5 separate regions of the Homo sapiens genome follow, and regions 1, 2, 3 and 5 are each linked to region 4. Evidence: promoter capture Hi-C in 16 types of primary human blood cells and fetal thymus (Javierre and others, 2016). All regions are on one chromosome and are shown on one strand. The core of a region is centred on a gene start or on the middle of the fragment in contact, and the rest is flanking DNA. Distances in the headings are between cores, read along the strand shown.

Region 1 (4,366 bases), core at 661-3,160, 490 kb after region 4:
ACCCCTGTCCTATGCCAAATGAACTCTATCAGTTCTACCCAGTGGTAATTCCACACTTTCTTTCTTACGTGGCCTGAATCCCACACTTTCTTTCTTACGTGGCATGAATCCCACACTTTCTTTCTTACGTGGCATGAATCCCACACTTACTTTCTTATGTGGCCTGAATCCCACACTTTCTTATGTGGCATGAATCCCTCACTTTATGTGGCATGAATCCCTCACTTTCTTTCTTATGTGGCAGATTGTGTTTGGTAATGTCAGATTTGAAGACTTGTTTATTAAATCAGAGACAGTATCTTCCAAGGTGAAGACTGGAGAGAGATGAGCCGACAGTCAGTGGCTTCTGGAGCTTTCCAGGTGGAGACTCCAATAAATGAATTGAGGGAACTCACAGTGATTCTGTCCTACTCAGAATGCAGATGGGCAGAACTGAGCTTCCCGGAGAATCCCAGTACCAGAAAGAAGAAGTAAGAAGGAGGGGGTCCTGGGAAGGAGATGGCCAAGGGACATGGCTTGGCAATCAGGAAGTCTTGGGCAGCCTTTGAGAGGGCTGTTGTCTCCAGGATAAGGAAGGAGGCTGGACATAGGGCTGGAGAATAAGGAAGGAGTGGAGGTAGAAGGAGTGCATGTAAAGTGGGGACCTTGTAAGGAGAGCAGAGTTGAGATTAGGGTTAGGAGGAGCGGAAACCTCATCACTAAGGTGAAGTGGCTGAAGGAACCACCAAGAAATGGGAGTTGAGGCTGGGTGCGGTGGCTCACGCCTGTGATCCCAGCACTTTGGGAGGCCGAGGCAGGTGGATCATGAGGTCAGGAGATTGAGACCATCCTGGTTAACACGGTGAAACCTCATCTCTACTAAAAATACAAAAAATTAGCTGGGCATGGTGGCGGGCACCTCTAGTCCCAGCTACTTGGGAGGCTGAGGCAGGAGAATGGCATGAACCCAGGAGATTGGAGCTTGCAGTGAGCCGAGATCGCGCCACTGCACTCCAACCTGGGCGACAGAGCGAGACTCCGTCTCAAAAAAAAAAAAAAAAGAAAGAAATGGAGTTGAGGCCTGGTCAGCTCTTTGCCGAGTAGACAGCAGACGATGTCTGAAGGAGGACAGCTCCCAGTGGAAAAGAAAACGAGATTGTGTTGTTTGAAGAGCTGAGCAGAGCGGGTCGGAACGGAGCTACTAGGAAAGTCTGGTGTGTTTCCGTATTGAAGGGCTGCAAGGTGGCTGAAATGCCTTCGTTTTGCGACCTGAAACTCCTGACAAGCTTGTGAGTGGAGCTGAGCCTGGGACACAGGAGTTGGCATGTGTTGGCATAAATAAAGGGATGTTCATAGCAGAGGGCAAATGGCGCTTTGCACTTTGAAAAGTGTTCAGTGTACAAATCAGTTGCCTTTAATAACTACTCTGTATTTAAGCTCCGCCTCCTGGGTTCAAGCGATTCTCCTGCCTCAGCCTCCCGAGGAGCTGGGATTACAGGCATGCACCACCATGCTGGCTAATTTTTGTATTTTTGGTAGAGATAGCTTTTAAAGAAATTTTGGCTGGGCCCGGTGGCTCTTGCCTGTAATCCCAGCACTTTGGGAAGCCGAGACAGGTGGATCATCTGAGGTCAGGAGTTCGAGATCAGCCTGGCCAACATGGCGAAACTCCGACTCTACTAAAAATACAAAAATTAACTGGGCATGGTGGCGGATGCCTGTAATCCCAGCAACTCAGGAGGCTGAGGCAGGATAATCACTTGAACCCACAGGGTGAAGGTTGTGGTGAGCTGAGATGGCGCCACTGTACTCCAGCCTGGGTGACATAGCAAGACTTTGTCTCAAAACCGAAGATATTCATTTGGCAAATTGAGATACATTGTTATCACTGATTTGTAGACACAGAACACATTGCAGCTATTTTAGCATAATTGTTACTTTAAGTTAAAAACCCAGTAACCAACTTACTTCTGCCTCACCTTAGTGTTTAGTACTTCTTCCAGTGGTAAAACTCTGTGTTCCTTTTATTTTATTATTTAGAGTCTCACTCTGTCACCCAGGCTGGAGTACAGTGGCACCATCATAGCTCACTGCAGCCTTGAACTCCTGGACTCAAGCGATCTTCCCACCTCAGTCTCCCGTGTAGCTGAGAGTACAGGCCTGCATGGCCATTCAGGGCTAATTTATTTTTTTTTGGACGTGGGGTCTCGCTATGTTGCCCAGGCTGGTCGCAAATTCCTGTCCTCAAGCAGTCCCCCCACCTCAGTCTGCCAAAGTGCTGGGATTACAGGTGCGAGCCACCCTGCCTGGCCTATACATGTTTTCAAGTGCTGATCATTTATTAATAGTGAAGTGATTGTAGTCAGGCGTGGCTCCCCCATTTACTGGCAGGTCCCATTTAGACCTGCGGTTGCAGAAGTACAGCACAGCTCTGTGCATGATTGGTGGAAATATTCCAGGAGATGAGGCTGTTACAGTAACAGCAGATTTTTCCATTGTGAAAATGTAACTATTCCTGCTTTGTTGAAGAGAAAGATTTTTTTGGAAAATGAAGAAAAGAGGATTTCTAAATTAAGGAAGCTTTTAGTGAAAGCAGTTGGCATTTGGGTAGTAGTATTCTTATCTGTTTAACATTTTTGTGGGGCTCTTGTTTTCTTTTATGTTTGGTTTTTGGAGCAATTTATAATATCTTAAATAATGACAGTCATAGTAAATCAACCTCCACACTTTTTCATGAGGAATTTTTGAATTTGCTGCTAAAATGCAGTACAGGAGGGCATGTTTAAGGCACACATTACCATCTCTACAATGTGAAGCGGGCTTTGAGCACGGAACAAGGTGTTACAGCTGTACCTAGGAAGTGGTGGCAGGGAGACCAGAAAGTACCTCGTGCCAGAGCCACAGCCCCTGCGGCCCTGCTTTCCTCGTGCACGTCAGTTTAGAGTGCACATTGGGCTTCAAACGCCTCTGCTGATTTGTTAGGAACAGAGAAGGTGCTCTGCTGAGAATTCCGTAGATTTCTAGACAGTATTTGGTTTTTGCTGCAGTTTGTCATTTGAGATGGAATGCTTGTGTTCTTTGTCCTGTGAAGGGCATTGGAGTACGACACCGGGGTGAGTCTGCCTCCTTCCCCTCCCTGGGACGTATGACAGTGTCTGGAGGCACATTTGGTTGGCATAGACTGGGAGGACGGGTGCTACTGGCATCTAGTGGACAGAGGCCAGGGATGCCACTGAAAAATCTTACAACGCACAGGACGCAGGAGGGGAGAGCCGCCTGTTGCGTAGCAACCTGGCAGCTGATAATATAATAAAAGTTGGTTATGACTCTTGGTCCTACTGGTGGTAAGTTTTAATAATTTTTTTTACAGATGATTCCTGCTTAAAACCTTTATGCTACCAAAGCATCTGTTCAAATTATACTTGAAAGCGCCTTTTTTTTTTTTTTTTTTTTTTGAGACAGGGTCTTGCTCTGTTTCCCAGGCTGAAGTGCAGTGGTGTGATCTTGGCTCATTGCAGTGTCCACCTCCCGGGTTCAAGCGATTCTCCTGCCTCAGCCTCCTGAGTAGCTGGAATTACAGGCACGTGCCACCACGCCGGCTAATTTTTTTTTTTTTTTTTTCAAGATGGAGTTCTGCTCTGTCGTCCAGGCTGGAATGCAGTGGCACGATCTTGGCTCACTGCAACCTCCGCCTCCCAGGTTCAAGTGATTCTCCTGCCTTAGCCTCCTGAGTACCTGGGATTACAGGCGCGTGCCCACTCCCAGCTAATTTTTGTATTTTTAATAGACAGGGTTTCACCATGTTGGCCAGGCTGATCTCGGACTCCTGACCTCAGGTGATCCGCTTGCCTCGGCCTCCCAAAGTGCTGGGATTACAGGCGTGAGCCATGGCGCCCCACCTGAAAGTGCCTTTTGTAAAACAGAGCCTGGAGGTTGAGACTCATTGCGGAGTCACTAGATAACTCCTCCCTTTGCAGCTTTGAAAGGACACTCTCGGAATGCAGTTCTGTCTTGCTATCCCTGGTTGTAAGAAGATACAACTAGGTCCCTTAAGGCAGTAGTAGCCTAACATTGTTACGTTTGTAATGTGTTCTCTTAGTCGTATTTATTGACTTAATTAGGCTGATACAGATATTCTGAGAACTAGGAATACCTTAGTTACATTGATACAGATATTCTGAGAACGTTTATCTTTAGTGGGAAAAAAGACAATGAGCTGTAGCTGAATTGTTCCAGTTTTTTGTGTTCCTGGTTCCACTGGAGAATGAACTGATGATGTGACGTCATTGTTAGCACAGCCACGCTGGGAAAGATGGCTCTCAAGGTGCTGTTTTTAATGGTGTTTAGTCATTAATAATTGGCAGTAAGAAAACTCATCTTTTGACTT
Region 2 (3,990 bases), core at 828-3,327, 350 kb before region 4:
GTCGGGGGGCGCGCCAGCTCGTAGCAGGGGAGCGCCCGCGGCGTCGGGTTTGGGCTGGAGGTCGCCATGGGGCGAGGCAGCGGCACCTTCGAGCGTCTCCTAGGTAACGCGTCCCCACCCGACGGCTCGGCCTTGGTCAGCCCGCAGCCTCCGCCCGGCGCTGAGTCAGCGCGGCCCCGAGGGCCCGAGGGGCGCGGACCGGCCGCCCTGCCCGCCTCTCCCCGGCCCGCTGTCCTCCCGGGTTCGGAGCCGCCGATCCTGGACCCTCGGCGCGGCCGTGGGGTCGGCGTCCGTCGGGCGTTGGCAAATGGGGCTCTGCGAGGGTCCGCGCAGGGCGCCAGGGGCGCTCGGCGACCTCGCTCCTCCGCGGGCCCGGGCATTCGGCCGATTTCCTCTTGACCGACGAGCACCCGGCCGAGTGGGCCACAAGGCCTGAGTCATGAAAGTGGGTGACTCAGTCGGATGTTAGGCTCGCACTTGGGCTTCTGACCCAAAACACTGGGCCTCGAAGGGTGGAGCCGGCAGTGTTCTCTCTGGGACCTTCGAGCTCTCTTGGGGGCTGCGGGTCCCAGACCCACCTTTTGTTCCCACACTGGCTTCGGGAAGTGCCTAATGGTTTAGGAAGGCGTTTTCTCACGTTTTTGGAGGTGAAAGCTGATCCTATCTGAGCCTCCTGGAATTGACGCGTTTTGGGAGGGAAACGAATGTTGATGTGCACGTGCCCAGCAGCACGTGGAAAATGCGTCTAATGTTTGGGGGTAGGAGCTTGGGTGGTCGAATGGGCTGCCCAAGCTTGCCTTTTTGTCAAGTAGGGTTTTCAAGGAGACTTCAAGTGAGACACCTTCCTTGCCAAGGGAACCAGCAAGCAGACTGAGTATCTCAGCCACACAGGTAGTTCAGTGCTTCAGGGATGAATCCAGAGGTTAACTACTGAATCAGTATAGAAAGTGGACGTGGCTTGGCTTGTTAGATCGTTTCTGTATCCGGGAAAGGCGATGTGGGCAGAGCTGGAGCTGCCCCCCCAGAGGGGCCAGTTGTTGGAGACAGCAGTGATGTGGTATGATGACAGGTATGCTGGCGAGTCCTCCTTGGAGCCCCGTTCTGCCCTTATTTCCAAAGCACTTGGCTTGGAGCAAGGGGCCTGGAGTCTACACTGCAGGCCTCTCTAGCCCTTGCCCAAGCTAAGGTCCCATTGAAACCGGGAGCATCTGGGCGAACGGGGACTCCAAGGGACGGGTGATAGGGTTCTTTGTTGAGAAGCAGCCGAGCCTGATGTTTAAGAGTGAATCAGCCTCTGTCTCTGGTGAGCTGTGTGACTCACGGCAGTGCCCTCGCCTCTCTGCTGAGTGTCTTTACCTCGCTCGCGGGTTGTGGGAGGGCTTGGACCAGCACCTGGTGTGCTCTTACGCTGTTTGCTGCTTCCCTGGGGAGGATGGCACTTCCCTGCCCATCAGCACGCTCAGGAGGATTCTGTCATGCTTTTTCATTTGGTCCAAATGTCTAAAGGGGAAGGAGAGAGTCCCCCCCAGCTGCTGCCAAGCTGGGGTGCTGCACGGGGCGTCCAGCAGGATAACCCCTCCCTTTCATGGCATTTTCTCTCTCAGACAAGGCGACCAGCCAGCTCCTGTTGGAGACAGATTGGGAGTCCATTTTGCAGATCTGCGACCTGATCCGCCAAGGGGACACACAGTGAGTTAGCGGGGCCTGTGCCCTGATGCGGAGGAGCAGCCGTGCACTAAGCTGGGCTCGCTTGGTGCCCGTTGGGTCTCCACGACGTAGCTGACCGTGTTAGGCTCTTATGTGGAGAACTGCATGGGCTACATGCTAGGATTTTTTGACATCTTGGAGGATTAAGGGGTTTTCTCTGTACAGCTTGCAGATACCTGGTTATGTTTGTATTTGCTTCGGGGTTCTCAAAGACTAAGATGGCAGACAGACTTTTTTTTTTAAGACGGGGCCTTGCTTTGTCACCCAGGCTGAAGTGCAGTGGCGTGATCTCAGCTCACTGCAGCCCCTGCCTCCCAAGCTCAAACGATCGTCCCACCTCAACCTCCTGAGTAGCTGGGACTACAGGCATTCACCATCACGCCCGGCTGATTTTTTGTATTTTGGTAGAGATGGGTTTTTGCCGTAATGCACAGGCTGGTCTCAGACTCCTGGGCTCAAGCAATCCTCCTGCCTTGGCCTCCCAAAGCACTGGGATTACAGGCGTGAGCCACTGCACCTGGCAGCAGATGAGCTTTTCTCATCTTAGTTGCTGAGACTATTTTTTTCCCGTTTTTCTCTGCTTTTATCAATGTTTCCTTTTCAGAGCAAAATATGCTGTGAATTCCATCAAGAAGAAAGTCAACGACAAGAACCCACACGTCGCCTTGTATGCCCTGGAGGTAAGCAGACCCCCGTGCCTCAGTGGCCCCCAGGGTCCCTACCCCCTACTAGTCACGACAGCATGAGAAGAGTTTGTCCTGTGGCCTTGCCCACCTCCCTGGGCATACATCAAGCAGGAGAGTTTCCACTCAGCCTTGAGTGCCTGTGTGAACAGTGCCACCTAGGAGAGGGTCACGCTGAGGGAGAGACAGGAGATAGGGGAGGGAGTGGGCACCACTTCTTCAGCCGGTCCTGCGTGAGTAAACACCAGAAGGCGGATGTCATTGCTGTGCTTGGCAGTGAGACTTGGCGTCACGGAGCGGTGCTGTGCAGGCTGCTGAGTCTCAGATGTGGGTTCCCCACTGGCCTGACGGGCCTGTTGAAGGGCTGCTGTCCCACCGGGTTCCCCACCGGCCACTGACGGGCCTGTCGAAGGGCTCTGCTGTCCCACCGGGTTCCCCTCCGGCCACTGACGGGCCTGTCGAAGGGCTCTGCTGTCCCACCGGGTTCCCCACCGGCCACTGACGGGCCTGTCGAAGGGCTCTGCTGTCCCACAGGGAGGTGGGTCTGTCCGGGAGGAGGAGGGGCCCTGCCCTGACCACTGGCCCAACCCTTCCCTTCCTGGGCATCTGCAGGTCATGGAATCTGTGGTAAAGAACTGTGGCCAGACAGTTCATGATGAGGTGGCCAACAAGCAGACCATGGAGGAGCTGAAGGACCTGCTGAAGGTGGGTGAGACGGGGGCATGCGGGTGGCCACCCAGGCTGGCACCTTTGCTTCTCCGGGTGTTTACTGGGCACTGATGACAGAACAGCACCAGGTGTGGCGGAAAATGTGCAGGTGCAGATCGGTGGTCCCTGCACTGCGCAAGCTCGCACTCATGAGTCGGAGAGACAGGGCCGTGAGCCCCAATCCAGGGAGGTCAGGGTTTAGCAGGAGCCGGCCTGGGGTGCTGTGTCTGGAGGACCAAGGTGACAGCGACCCTGGGGCCTGGGGGAAGCTTCCGGGAGGCAGGGCTTGGGCACCTGCTGTCTTAGGGAAGGTGAGTAGATGCCACTGGGTGGGCAGGGCAGGTGGTGGCTATCGTGTGTGAGAGTGGCTGTGGTCCGGAGGGCAGGCTGGCCACATCCCACAGGCAGGGGCCTGGGAGGGCTCTGAGCGGGGGCTTGTAAGATCGGATGTGTCTGGCGGGGATAAGAGCTGTTTTGGAGAGCGAGGGCTTCATGCTTTCCTGGGCAGAGGAGGAAAAGCCCTCCAGATCCCCAGGAGATTGTGCCGGGGACATCTGCAGGGATTGTGCTGGGGACACCTGCAGGGACTGTGATGTGGACTGTGATGCAGTGGGGATGCTGTTGCAGGTGTCAAGGAGAAAGAGTGTCCCATGTAGTCAGGCTGCTCCCCTTCTGTCCCAACCTGTGGGCCAGACCTGGGTCTCATAGGAGACTCCCTGGACTCACACAGCTGAGAACCTGCCCGGGGATCCCGGTGGACAGCCAGGCCTCTCAAAGGCCCTCACTGGCCACTTTGGCTGGCTTCCTGTCCCGTCCTGTCCTGGCTGAGAGGCGGAAGGTGCCGGAGTCTGGCCCTGCCCGACCCTGGTGCTCCTGAGCTCCTTCAGTCAGG
Region 3 (4,079 bases), core at 1,306-3,805, 410 kb after region 4:
CCAAGGGTACAGGACCCTACTGGTGGGTAGCGATGGAGGACGGGAGGCTAAGTGGACTGTGAGTCCTACGAAGAGGTCTGAGGACCAGGGAGGAGGAGACATGGGAACCCACGATCACCCATCACGTGGTTAGTGGACTGTGAGTCCTACGAAGAGGTCTGAGGACCAGGGAGGAGGAGACATGGGAACCCACGATCACCCATCACGTGGTTAGTGGACTGTGAGTCCTACGAAGAGGTCTGAGGACCAGGGAGGAGGAGACATGGGAACCCACGATCACCCATCACGTGGTTAGTGGACTGTGAGTCCTACGAAGAGGTCTGAGGACCAGGGAGGAGGAGACATGGGAACCCACGATCACCCATCACGTGGTTAGTGGACTGTGAGTCCTACGAAGAGGTCTGAGGACCAGGGAGGAGGAGACATGGGAACCCACGATCACCCATCACGTGGTTAGTGGACTGTGAGTCCTACGAAGAGGTCTGAGGACCAGGGAGGAGGAGACATGGGAACCCACGATCACCCATCACGTGGTTAGTGGACTGTGAGTCCTACGAAGAGGTCTGAGGACCAGGGAGGAGGAGACATGGGAACCCACGATCACCCATCACGTGGTTAGTGGACTGTGAGTCCTACGAAGAGGTCTGAGGACCAGGGAGGAGGAGACATGGGAACCCACGATCACCCATCACGTGGTTCAAAACAAGTACAAAGGAAAATATGGTGACCTCAGAAAAGCTCATAGAGTATATTAAATACGCTGGGTGTTAGTGATTAAAAGGGGACAAAACAGACATGCATTATCTGTAAAACCAAGTACACCAGATAGAATTTGAATGGATACAAAGAAACAAAATAGCCATTAGATTTCAAGGTAATAGAAAAAAGAGAAAATATTTTGTTTCATTTTCATCCTTTTTGAAAGTCAGGCTTCCGGTTCTGGGGTTCTGGGGAGGGACGTGGAGAGCCTTACCAACCAGCAGGGACCAGGACCGGATGCCTGGAGCCCTCTTCAGATGGAGGCGGGAGCTGGTGCGGGTCTCCACCTGCAGGTACATCCCGAGAGGGCAGCACCACTCTCTACAGGAGGAGGGGTCTGGGAACAGACAGAGGCAGCTGAGCCCTTGGGCCTGCACACAGGCAGGCGCCCACGCCATCAGGCCCAGTCTGGAGGCCAAGAGCAGGTCCCCCAACTAAGTCACCTGCAGCCCCAGACACCATCAGCCAGTCTCACCTGGTCTCTGTGGTTGGGCACGTCACTGGATCCCCCAGAGACCCCGTTTCCTGTGTAAGGAAGGCCCTTTTCCGTTCACAGCGACACCGACTGCGCGGGGGCTGTTTCCCGCTCAGACTCACGAGCTACAGCTGCATCACCACCTGCCCCGTCCTGTCTGGAAACCTTATGTCCTGAGGCCGCTAGCCCCCAGCAGCCTTTAAGCTTCTAGCATCTGTGGGCACCCCCTCTCCCCTGTGCTGGCCTCCACCAAGAAAGGAACTGAAAGTCCCATCATGGCTTCCGGCCGTACTGGCTCTCGCACTGGCATGGACCAACGATCTCAGCTCTCTCTCTGCCCTCCTCCACCTGCTGAAAGTTCAGACTGCACAGTAGAGGGTCCCAAAGCGGCCAGAACCGACGAGTCACCAAAGGGGCTAATCTTCCACAGCGGAGTTCCGCACGGGCGCAGCAGCCCTGCCACTTCACCGTACGCTCCCAACACTGGCCCCAGGGACCCCGTTCTGGTAGTTTCTCAGGGCTTTCCCTGTGAAGTCAAATCAAATTTCTGACATTAAGTAGGGGGTTCAGGCTGGGCGCGGTGGCTCAGGCCTGTAATCTCAGCACTTTGGGAGGACGAGGCGTGCGGATTGTTTGAGTCACGGAGTTCAAGACCAGCCAGGGCAACGTGGCGAAACCCCGTCTCCACAGAAAATACATAAAACAGCCCGGTGTGGTGGTGTACGCCTGTGGTCCTAGTTATTCAGGAGGCTGAGCTGGGAGGATCACCTGAGGCCGGGAGGTGGAGGCTGCAGTGAGCAGAAATCGTGCCACTGGACTCCAGCCTGGGTGACAGAGTGAGACCGTGTCTCAAAAAAATAAAAAATAGTGGGTTCAAATCACACAAACCAATCCTAGATGCTGGTATATGACTGGGCTCCCTCCCGGGCCTCAGTTGCCTCATTGCTCCCGAAACACCCGGCATTCCACATCCAAATGCACACACACACGCACACTCGCGGACACAAGCACACGCGCGCTGGCAAAGCCGCCCGCGCCGCTAGTCGCACCGAGCGCTCGTTTCTTTGTCCGGATCGGGGGCGCTCCCGCCGCCGGGGCCAACCTGCAGCGGAACAGGCGCGAGGCCGCCCGCGACGGGCACGGCGGGACACGGAACAGCCGGCAGGCGGGCCCAGGACGCAGACCCCTCCCGGAGTGGGCCTAAGGGTGCCGGGACGCGCGGCACGGAGCGGGAAGGAAGTGCGGAGCCCACCCAGCCCAGCCGCCTACCGAGAGCACAGCGGTCCCCGCGCCGCAGCAGAGAGACGCGAACCGGCGGGGGCGGGGCCGCGCGCACTTCCGGGATTGGAGCGGAGCCGAGCCGACTTTCGGGGGCGGGGCCGCGCGCGCTTCCGGGATTGGGGGCGGGGCCGCGCGCGCTTACGGGATTGGGGCGGGGCCGCAAGCATTTCCTGGATGGGGCGGAGCCGAGCGGATTTCCGGGATCCGGGCGGAGCCGCAGGAGGAGGCGGGTGGTTCCTGCTAAAGAAGCCAGTTTTCTTGAAAAAAAGAAACGTGCGGGGAAACGTATCCGACAGCAAAGAACTTACCAAGGACTATGAACGTCTTGCTAACATAGAAGCGAAACTGAAGCGGTTCTCATTGCCAAAAAAGAAGATTTGAGCATGAATAAGAACAGGAATTCGAGTGAATTTAAAATCCTCAGATGCTCCAGTCTGTAATTCATAATAATGTATTTTTTAACTCTGTTCACCTTTGGAGGATGCTGGTAAGCTCACCCCAGTTTGTGGCCTGGTTAATAAAAGGAAAGCATCAAGCATTTGTCCTGCCTTTATGAAATTTACAGCAGAGTAACCAAATACTGCATGAGAAGAATTTCTCATTATAGAAGTTTTCCCGCTAATAAATGAAGAAGAAACAGTAGGATTAAAACATCACCCTATGAATTAACGGACCTAGGCAATGTCATCAATGACTGCTAATTAACATCGCAAAAAGGTCAGTTAGATATCAGAAGTACACAACACTATGAAGTAGTCTTGCCAGAAAAAATTTAACCTGAATGTGAACAAGCTTCTAGAGTGAATTACTGGAAATGTGGAAGACAAGACTGTACTAAAGGATTCTACAAGGATACAGTCAGCAATTCGAAACCTCAACCATCTGAATGGACCCTTCCGCTTGGCCAAGAGCATTCCCAAGTTATCCTGAAAAACTAGCTCAGGCAGTGATGGGAAGGGGGAGACAGACATACCTCACTCCCTCCTCCCTTTTGGAATTCAGGCACACAGCTGACCAGCATTCACATTAAAACAGATCTTGAGGTGGCCAGGTGCGGTGGCTCACGCCTGTAATCCCAGCACTTTGGGAGGCCAAGGTGGGCAGATCACGAGGTCAGGAGATTGAGACCATCCTGGCTAACACAGTGAAACCTCATCTCTACTAAAAACACAAAAAAATTAGCTGGGCGTGGTGGCGGGTGCTCATAGTCCCAGCTACTCGGGAGGCTGAGGCAGGAGAATGGCGTGAACCCGGGAGGCAGAGCTTGCAGTGAGCCGAGATCGTGCCACTGCTCTCCAGCCTGGGCAACAGAGTGAGACTCCATCTCAATAAAAAATAACAAAACAAAACAAAAACAGATCTTGAAGTTGACAAAGTAGACTCTGTAGCAATGACGCCAAATTCCAGCCTGACTCTGGTATAGGACTACATGACAGATAGGAAGCCTTGGAAGAAATGGAAGTACTTTACCCCACATTAAATTTCTTCGACTTATTTTGAAATAGCCCTGCAAAGCTGTCCCTTGTGAAGAAAATCTACATTCTGTAGCGAATCCCCGTTCCTT
Region 4 (2,601 bases), core at 102-2,601:
GTGTCCTAGGTTGGGGGAGGTACCCCAGCCCTGCTCACCTTGTGGGGCCCGAGCTCTAGGGCCATCACCTTGGTCAGCATGTCCAGGGCACCCTTGGTGGAGCCTACGAAGAGGAACCCAAGCTGGCTGGGGCTGGGGTCGGTGATGAGGGCGAGGCTGGGGCTGGGGTGGGGCTGAGGGCACAGCTGGGGCACTCACAGTAGACGCTATGGTTAGTTACTGCCCGCTGGGAGCACTGGCTGGAGACATTCACGATGGCCCCTGGGACTCCCCGGGCTATTAAGCCCCTGGCCACAATCTGGAATCGCAGCGAGACCGTGAGGCAGAGCTGGCATCACTCACGAGAATTCCCGTCCAGCCCACAGGGCAGCTCACCTGCGACACCTGGATGACCGCACGCAGGTTCACCTCAAAGGATCTAGAGGCCGAGGGACAGACCCTGGTCAGAGATTAGGGCTGCTGCGTCCTCCAGGACAGCCCCTCCCTGAGGTTCCTCCGCCCTCACAGGCTCACCTGTCAAAGGCCTCCTTGGTGACCTCCAGGAAGGGCTGCAGCAGGGCGACAGCGGCGTTGTTCACCAGCAGGTCCACGGGGCCCACGCTGCCCAGCGCCCGCTCGGTGGCCTCCCAGTCACCCAGGTCCACGCACACGGGTTCTATCCCCGGGCACTGTGTGTATCAGGGGGCAGTTACCAGAGGCTCTGTGCCCAGCAAGCGGCACAGCTGGGGACTGGGGCTGGTGACCTTTCAGCCGGACAAGTAAAGGAGTTAGGAGTTCCGAAGGTGTCGGGACTGTGGGGCCAGCAGCCGGGCGCTACCTCCGGCCGGTTCACTTCCTCCCTGCGCCCGAGCGACTCCTGCCCGGGGCCTGCTTCGCAGCCATTTCGGCCTCTTTCTGAGCCCGGGGGCCCCGGCGGCTCTGCCGACCACCCGGCCGCCCACGCAGGCCACCAGCCCCGAGAGAGGGTGCGCGGGCGCCCAGGCCGCGGTGAGAAGCGCAGCGCCCGCGAGGGGAGGCGGAGTCGCGCACAGAGGTACCGCCCCCGCTCGCTGCCGCCCCCTCCTGGCTCGCCGCCTCGCAGCGCTGGGACCCGGCGGGACCTACCTCGCGGACAAGGCTGTCAAGATCCGCCTGAGTCCGGCTCACAGCCACCACCCGCGCGCCCGTCGCGTGCAGCGCCTGGACCGTGCCGCGCCCTATACCTGCCGGGAGCGGGCTCAGTGAAGGCGTCCCCTGCCCGCCTCTGCCCGCCGCCGGCCTTTGCCCACCTTTCCCCGCCGCCCACCTTTGCCTGCCCCGGTGACCAGCACCCGGCGGCCCGCGAGGAACAGCTCCATGTCGGCGCAGTCTCCGCCCTCCGCACTGGGGCTGCGGAACTTGAAGCTCTGGCCACGATGGGCGGGGCGCGGCGGGGCCAATGGCAGGGCGGCCTTCAGATAGGCGGTGGGGACATTCAAATAGCTGCTCCCCGCTGCAGTGATTGGCCGAAAGGAGTGGGCGCGCCGGGGCGGGGCGGGGTCTCCGCTGCCTCAGGGACGGGTCTTTTGAAGTGCCTGGTGTGACCCATCTTCCGTGCTTGAAATCGACGTAGTGGACCCTGGCTAGCATATTTTTCCCTGCCAAGATTATTGCAAAAAGACGATGTGGTGGTTAATATCGGAAAGAATGTGTGGTTAATATCAGGAAGAACACGTGAAATGGAGAATTTCAGGGCTAACATTTCTTGTTTTGTTTCTGAAAACATCGGCATGTCCTAAAAAGTGTCGCCTGTGCCCATCATCTCTCAGGCTTGGGAGCAGGACACCGCCGGCTCACTTTAAAGCCAAGGGAAAGAATTTGGACAACCAACTACGTCTGGAGAAGACACCAATGTCAGCAGAGCTCCGCTTTCATCTGTGGGCGAAGGATTACCTAGATGCCAAGGCAAGAGACTGAAGACACAAACTGTTTCAGTATAACAAAGAAAATAGGCCGGGAGCGGTGGCTCACGCCTGTAATCCCAGCACTTTGGGAGGCCGAGGCGGGTGGATCACGAGGTCAGGAGATCGAGACCATCCTGGCTAACACGGTGAAACCCCATCTCTACTAAAAATACAAAAAATTAGCCGGGCGCGGTGGCGGGCACCTGTAGTCCCAGCTACTCAGGAGGCTGAGGCAGGAGAATGGCGCGAACCCAGGAGGCGGAGCTTGCAGTGAGCCGAGATTGCGCCACTGCACTCCAGCCTGGGCGACAGAGCAAGACTCCATCTTTAAAAAAAAAACAGTTAAAATAAAAATAGTCATAATACAAATTAGATATAAAAATGATCATGATCATGGATAATTATCAATCATTAGTATAAACATTATTAATCATTAGCTTTTAATATTACTCTTTGTTGCATTACTAATATAACCTAGGGACATTGTGAGAAGTGACCTAGAAGGCAAGAGGTGAGCCCTCTGTCACTCCCGCATAAGGGCTGCTTGAGGGCTCCTTGGTCAAGCAGTAATGCCGTTGTCTGGGAAGCCACCCGTTACTTAGAAGACTGCGAAGGGGAGTCTCCTTTCCTTGGAGGCGTCAGGGAACACTCTGCTCCACCAGCTTCTTGTGGGAGGCTG
Region 5 (4,503 bases), core at 340-2,839, 390 kb after region 4:
TGCAGTAAGCCGAGATTGTGCCACTGCGCTCCAGCCTGGGTGACAAGAGTGAGACTCTGTCTCAAAAAAAAAAAAAAAGAAAAAAGAAGATGATCTGAATAGCATTGCAGCAGTGAAGGTGCTCCAGACACACAGGCCCACCCAGCAGGAAACACTGTTCCATAATATTTCATAACAAGATAAAAGATACTCAGAAGATGACGGAAGCTGTGAAAGAACAGCATAAATCAGAAATAGAAAAGCCCAGGCCAGGCTCAGCGGCTCACAACTGTAATCCCACCTACTTGGGAGGCTGAGGCATGAGAATCACCTGAACCTGGGTGGTGGAGGTTGCAGTGAGCCAAGATCGTGCCACTGCACTCCAGCCTGGGCGATAGAGCAAGACTCAGTCTAAAAAAAAAAAAGCCCAGAAATGTGGTAATCAGACAAAAGGAGGTTGTAAAAAATTGCCTGTGGAGCTCAGAAATGAATTATAAGGAAAAAACAATGTTTTTAATGAAGACTAAACTATAAGAAGTGTACAAGTGAGTAGACACCATGGAAAGTGCAGTATTTGGAAACAGATGACAGAAAAGAAAAAAGCAAACAGAGATGAAAAGGCGTTCTGACAAATTGAATATGGCAAAGAAGACTGAACTTACATACAGCTGATGAAGAGGCATTTTGACTTGGGCCAGGCGCGGTGGCTCATGCCTATAATCCCAGCACTTTGGGAGGCTGAGGAGGGTGGATCACCTGAGGTCAGGAGTTCGAGACCAGCCTGACCAACATGGTGAAACCCTGTCTCTATTAAAAATACAAAAATTAGCCAGGCGTGGTGTCAGGTGCCTGTAATCTCAGCTACTCGGGAGACTGAGGCAGGAGAATTGCTTGAACCCGGGAGGCGGAGGTTGTGGTGAGCTGAGATCGTGCCACTGCACTCCATCCTGGGGGACAAGAGCAAAACTCCATCTCAAAAAAAAAAAGAAAGGAAAGGCGTTCTGACAATTGAATATAGGCAAAGAAGATCCAACTTACACACAGCTGGAGTCCCTGTTTCCATCATCTGTTGCTGCGTGACAGATCTCCCCAAACTTGAGGTCCCCATTCATCACCCCTTGTGTTTCTGTGGGTTGGCTGCGTGATTCTGCTTTTCTGACCGAGGTGCCCTCAGGTGGTCACAGCCCCGTAACATCTAGAAACCTCTGATGGTCCGCGTGGCCTTCCATGTCCGGCAGTTCATCCCAACTGTCAGCTGGGGCTCCTTAGTTCTCCTGCATGTGTGTCATCCAGGAGGCCTAGCATGTGCCTGTAGTCCCAGCTCCTTGGAAGGCTGAGGCTGGAGGATCACTTGAGCCCAGGAGTTGGGTGCTGCAGCGAGCCATGATCATGCCAGCACGCTCCAGCCTGGGCAACAGAGTGAGACCCCATCTGTTAAAAAAAAGAGAGAGGCCGGGCACAGTGGCTCACACCTGTAATCCCAGCATTTTGGAAGGCCGAGGGGCAGATTACCTGAGGTCAGGAGTTCGAGACCAGCCTGGCCAACATGGTGAAACCCCGTCTCTACTAAAAATACAAAAATTAGCTGGGCATCGGGGCGGGCGCCTGTAATCCCAGCTACTCGGGAGGCTGGGGCAGGAGAATCGCTTGAACCCGGGAGGCAGAGGTTGCAACGAGCCAAGATCACGCCACTCCACTCCAGCCTGGGCGAGAGAGCGAGACTCCATCTCAAAAAAAAAAAAAAAAGAGAGAAAGACAAGGAAGTGGGGAGGAGAATAAGGGGGAAGGGACCCCATGAGTACAGACCAGGAACGAATGAGTTCTGCACCCCTCTCTCACCTCCCCCAGGTGCTGACCCCAACCCTTCAGAGCCCTGCTCCCCCTGCCCCGGCTCCTCCTGCCCCGTCCCCCATGCCTTGCCATTCTCCTTCAGCCTGGCTGCCCTGTCCCCCATGCCTTGCTGGTGCCCCTCAGCCTGGCTGCCTTGCTGGGCCGCCGTGCATGAAGAGCTGCTTCTTGGTGGCTCCCTGCTGGCCGGACCCGTCCCTCCCAAGCTGAGCCACCAGCGCGTTGAGTAGCAGCCCTGTTTCATAGCATATCTCCCCTTCTGTGCAAAATAGTCACTGGAACGGGGAGTTTCATTTGGCATAACGTAAAGTACACATTCCGGATTTAAGGTTCCCAGGAGAAATAGAAGTAGCAACTCCCACAGTCTCCACAGGCTGAAAGGGAAGGCGTCTCCCTGCTGTGGACTTGCCACATCGTGCTCCAGCAGCCACTTCTTCCTAACCCCTCCCTGTTTACCCCCCAGATTTTTCCTCTGTTCCGTGCGCTAGGTGCAAACGGCCTCCTCATTGAGTATGAAGACATGTTTCCCTACGAGGGCCCTCTGAGGCTGCTGAGGGCCAAGTACGCCTACAGGTAACACTGCCCGTGGCAGGTACAGGGGCGCGGCGTGAAAGCGGGGAAGGGGGGGTTCCGCAGGGCAGGAGGAGCAGCAACCTGGAGGTGCGGGTGGCACAGTCAGGAACTGAACAGTGGTGGGTACATTCCTTTTTTGTCTTTTTAAATTCATCTCTTTAATTGTATGAAAACAAAGTTTCATTTCAAACATTCACTGGAGAGAATTTTGAAACATTTAAAGGGAAAGTAAGCATCAGCAGCGCCCCCTACAGGGAAGAGCTGCAGTTCCTGTCTCTGTCCTGCAGGCGTTTCTTCTGTTGATGGGAGAAGGCTGGACTACAGAAGGTTAGAGAAGGTTAGAGAAGGTTAGAGAAGGCCAGAGAAGGAAGGCCAGAGAAGGCTGGGCTAGAGAAGGCTAGAGAAAGCTGGAGAAGGCTAGAGAAGGCTGGAGAAGGCTGGAGAAGGCTGGACTACAGAAGGTTAGAGAAGGCCAGAGAAGGCTGGGCTAGAGAAGGCCGGAGAAGGCTGGAGGAGGCTAGAGAAGGCTGGAGGAGGCTGGAGGAGGCCAGAGAAGGCTGGAGAAGGCTGGAGAAGGCTGGAGGAGGCTGGGCTAGAGAAGGCCGGAGGAGGCTGGAGGAGGCCAGAGAAGGCTGGAGAAGGCTGGAGGAGGCTAGAGAAGGCTGGAGGAGGCTGGAGGAGGCCGGAGAAGGCTGGAGGAGGCTGGAGGAGGCTGGGCTAGAGAAGGCCGGAGGAGGCTAGAGAAGGCTGGAGAAGGCTGGAGAAGGCTGGGCTAGAGGTTAGAGAAGGCTAGATAAGGTTAGAGAAGGCCAGAGAAGGCTGGGCTAGAGAAGGCTGGAGGAGGCCAGGGAAGGTCAGAGGAGGCTGGAGAAGGCTGGAGGAGGCTGTAGAAGGCTGAGCTAGAGAAGGCTGGAGGATGCTGGAGGAGGCCTCCGCGCAGGGAGGGGCTGCTCTTCAGGCCACAGTTGAGCCTTGAGTTAGAGAAGAGAAGAATTAAAGGGGAGAGAATCAAAATCAATAAAATCAGGTGTGGTGGAGATGGGAGGCCCCTGCTTAATGCTAAAATCACAGGTCTCTGTGAAAATCAATAACGGCCCCAAAGATAAATGCACAATGGACATTAACTGGCCAATCCCAAAGGAAGAAACAAAAAAGGCCAATAAGCATATAAGAAAATGTGAAGGCCAGGAGCAGTGGCTCACGCCTGTAATCCCAGCAATTTGGGAGGCCAAGGTGGGCAGATCACTGGAGCTCAGGAGTTTGAGACCAGCCTGGGTAACATGGTAAAACCCCATCTCTATGTGAAATACAAAAATTAGGCCGGGTGCAGTGGCTCACGCCTATAATCCCAGCACTTTGGGAGGCCGAGGTGGGTGGATCACTTGAGCTCAGGAGTTCGAGACCAGCCTGGGCAACATGGTGAAACCCCATCTCTACATAAAATGCAAAAAATAGCCATGGATAGTGGCATGGGGCTGTAGTCCAAGCTACTCAGGAGGCTGAGATAGGAGGATGGCTTGAGCCTGGTGTTAGGTTTTTTTAAAGGGAAGGCGAGGGTTAAAGAAAGACAGAGAGAGAGAGGGCGTCTCTACAGCAACAGAGGTATAGTGCAGAAACCTACAGAGGGGGGACCAGCTTAATGCCAGAGCCCACCGCCGCTTACAGGCTGGGGTACTTACAGGCCTGGACGGGAGGGGTTTGGGCAGTAGGGCTTCTGCCTGGGAAGATGTTGAGAGATGTTCCCATGATGAGGCAGTTGGGTCCTTGTTCCCAGCAGAATATGATCAGGATGTTCCTTCAGCTGGGCCTTTGCCCAGCAAGGTATGTTCGGGATGTTCCTGGGCCGTGTGGTCGGGTGGTCGGGATGTTCCTGGGCCGTGTGGTCAGGATGTTGGGCAGGATGTTCCTCACAGCCCAAACCCCGTGGAATGTTTCACTTCAACCTGGGTCTGGAAAACAGCAGGGGGCTTACAAAATGGTGCAGTTTGGATTAACACCCAGGACCCAGAGGCTGCAGTGAGCTGAGATGGCGCCACTGCACTCCAACCTGGGCAACAGAGCCAGAGCCTGTCTCAAAAGAAAAGGAAAGAAAGAAAGAAAATG

Evidence for each region. Contacts are between HindIII fragments. The CHiCAGO score rates a contact against its expected background, and 5 or more counts as called.
Region 1: a contact is called between a fragment that was not itself captured here and the fragment with the promoter of DCXR in region 4, in 1 of 17 cell types (activated CD4 T cells). The highest score is 5.6, in activated CD4 T cells.
Region 2: a contact is called between a fragment that was not itself captured here and the fragment with the promoter of DCXR in region 4, in 1 of 17 cell types (erythroblasts). The highest score is 5.0, in erythroblasts.
Region 3: a contact is called between the fragment with the promoter of CYBC1 here and the fragment with the promoter of DCXR in region 4, in 5 of 17 cell types (activated CD4 T cells, naive CD4 T cells, naive CD8 T cells and 2 more). The highest score is 6.3, in activated CD4 T cells.
Region 5: a fragment that was not itself captured here is called in contact with the fragment with the promoter of DCXR in region 4 in 4 of 17 cell types (non-activated CD4 T cells, M2 macrophages, total CD8 T cells and 1 more); the score reaches 7.1 in non-activated CD4 T cells.

The regions. Positions count from the first base shown.
Region 1 is chr17:82,525,807-82,530,172 of GRCh38, forward strand. The region is part of intron 1 of FOXK2 (forkhead box K2); the gene reads left to right. Among named protein-coding and RNA genes, the nearest start is that of FOXK2, 8.3 kb to the left of the region's middle. The HindIII fragment of the contact is 1,294 bases long and covers 1,264-2,557 here.
Region 2 is chr17:81,684,001-81,687,990 of GRCh38, forward strand. It overlaps HGS (hepatocyte growth factor-regulated tyrosine kinase substrate), which reads left to right and starts at 11. Exons shown (of 22, transcript NM_004712.5): 1 at 11-103; 2 at 1,605-1,689; 3 at 2,312-2,387; 4 at 3,003-3,095. The coding sequence starts at 67. RefSeq lists a silencer at 142-241. The HindIII fragment of the contact is 2,575 bases long and covers 791-3,365 here.
Region 3 is chr17:82,448,197-82,452,275 of GRCh38, forward strand. CYBC1 (cytochrome b-245 chaperone 1) reads right to left here and starts at 2,556. Exons shown (of 7, transcript NM_001033046.4): 1 at 2,504-2,556; 2 at 974-1,096. The coding sequence starts at 1,058. RefSeq lists silencers at 897-946, 2,257-2,616 and an enhancer at 1,367-1,626. The HindIII fragment of the contact is 1,869 bases long and covers 1,437-3,305 here.
Region 4 is chr17:82,036,346-82,038,946 of GRCh38, forward strand. DCXR (dicarbonyl and L-xylulose reductase) reads right to left here and starts at 1,352. Exons shown (of 8, transcript NM_016286.4): 1 at 1,286-1,352; 2 at 1,105-1,202; 3 at 514-668; 4 at 376-418; 5 at 199-298; 6 at 39-103. The coding sequence starts at 1,337. DCXR-DT (DCXR divergent transcript) reads left to right here and starts at 1,573. Exons shown (of 2, transcript NR_159948.1): 1 at 1,573-1,923. RefSeq lists a silencer at 743-1,572. The HindIII fragment of the contact is 4,930 bases long and covers 1-2,601 here.
Region 5 is chr17:82,422,104-82,426,606 of GRCh38, forward strand. HEXD (hexosaminidase D) reads left to right here. Exons shown (of 13, transcript NM_001330542.2): 3 at 2,291-2,400. It overlaps HEXD-IT1 (HEXD intronic transcript 1), which reads left to right and starts at 3,222. Exons shown (of 1, transcript NR_170223.1): 1 at 3,222-4,501. LOC124904091 (a long non-coding RNA gene) reads right to left here. Exons shown (of 3, transcript XR_007065958.1): 3 at 3,809-4,349. RefSeq lists an enhancer at 1,880-2,715. The HindIII fragment of the contact is 7,971 bases long and covers 1-4,503 here.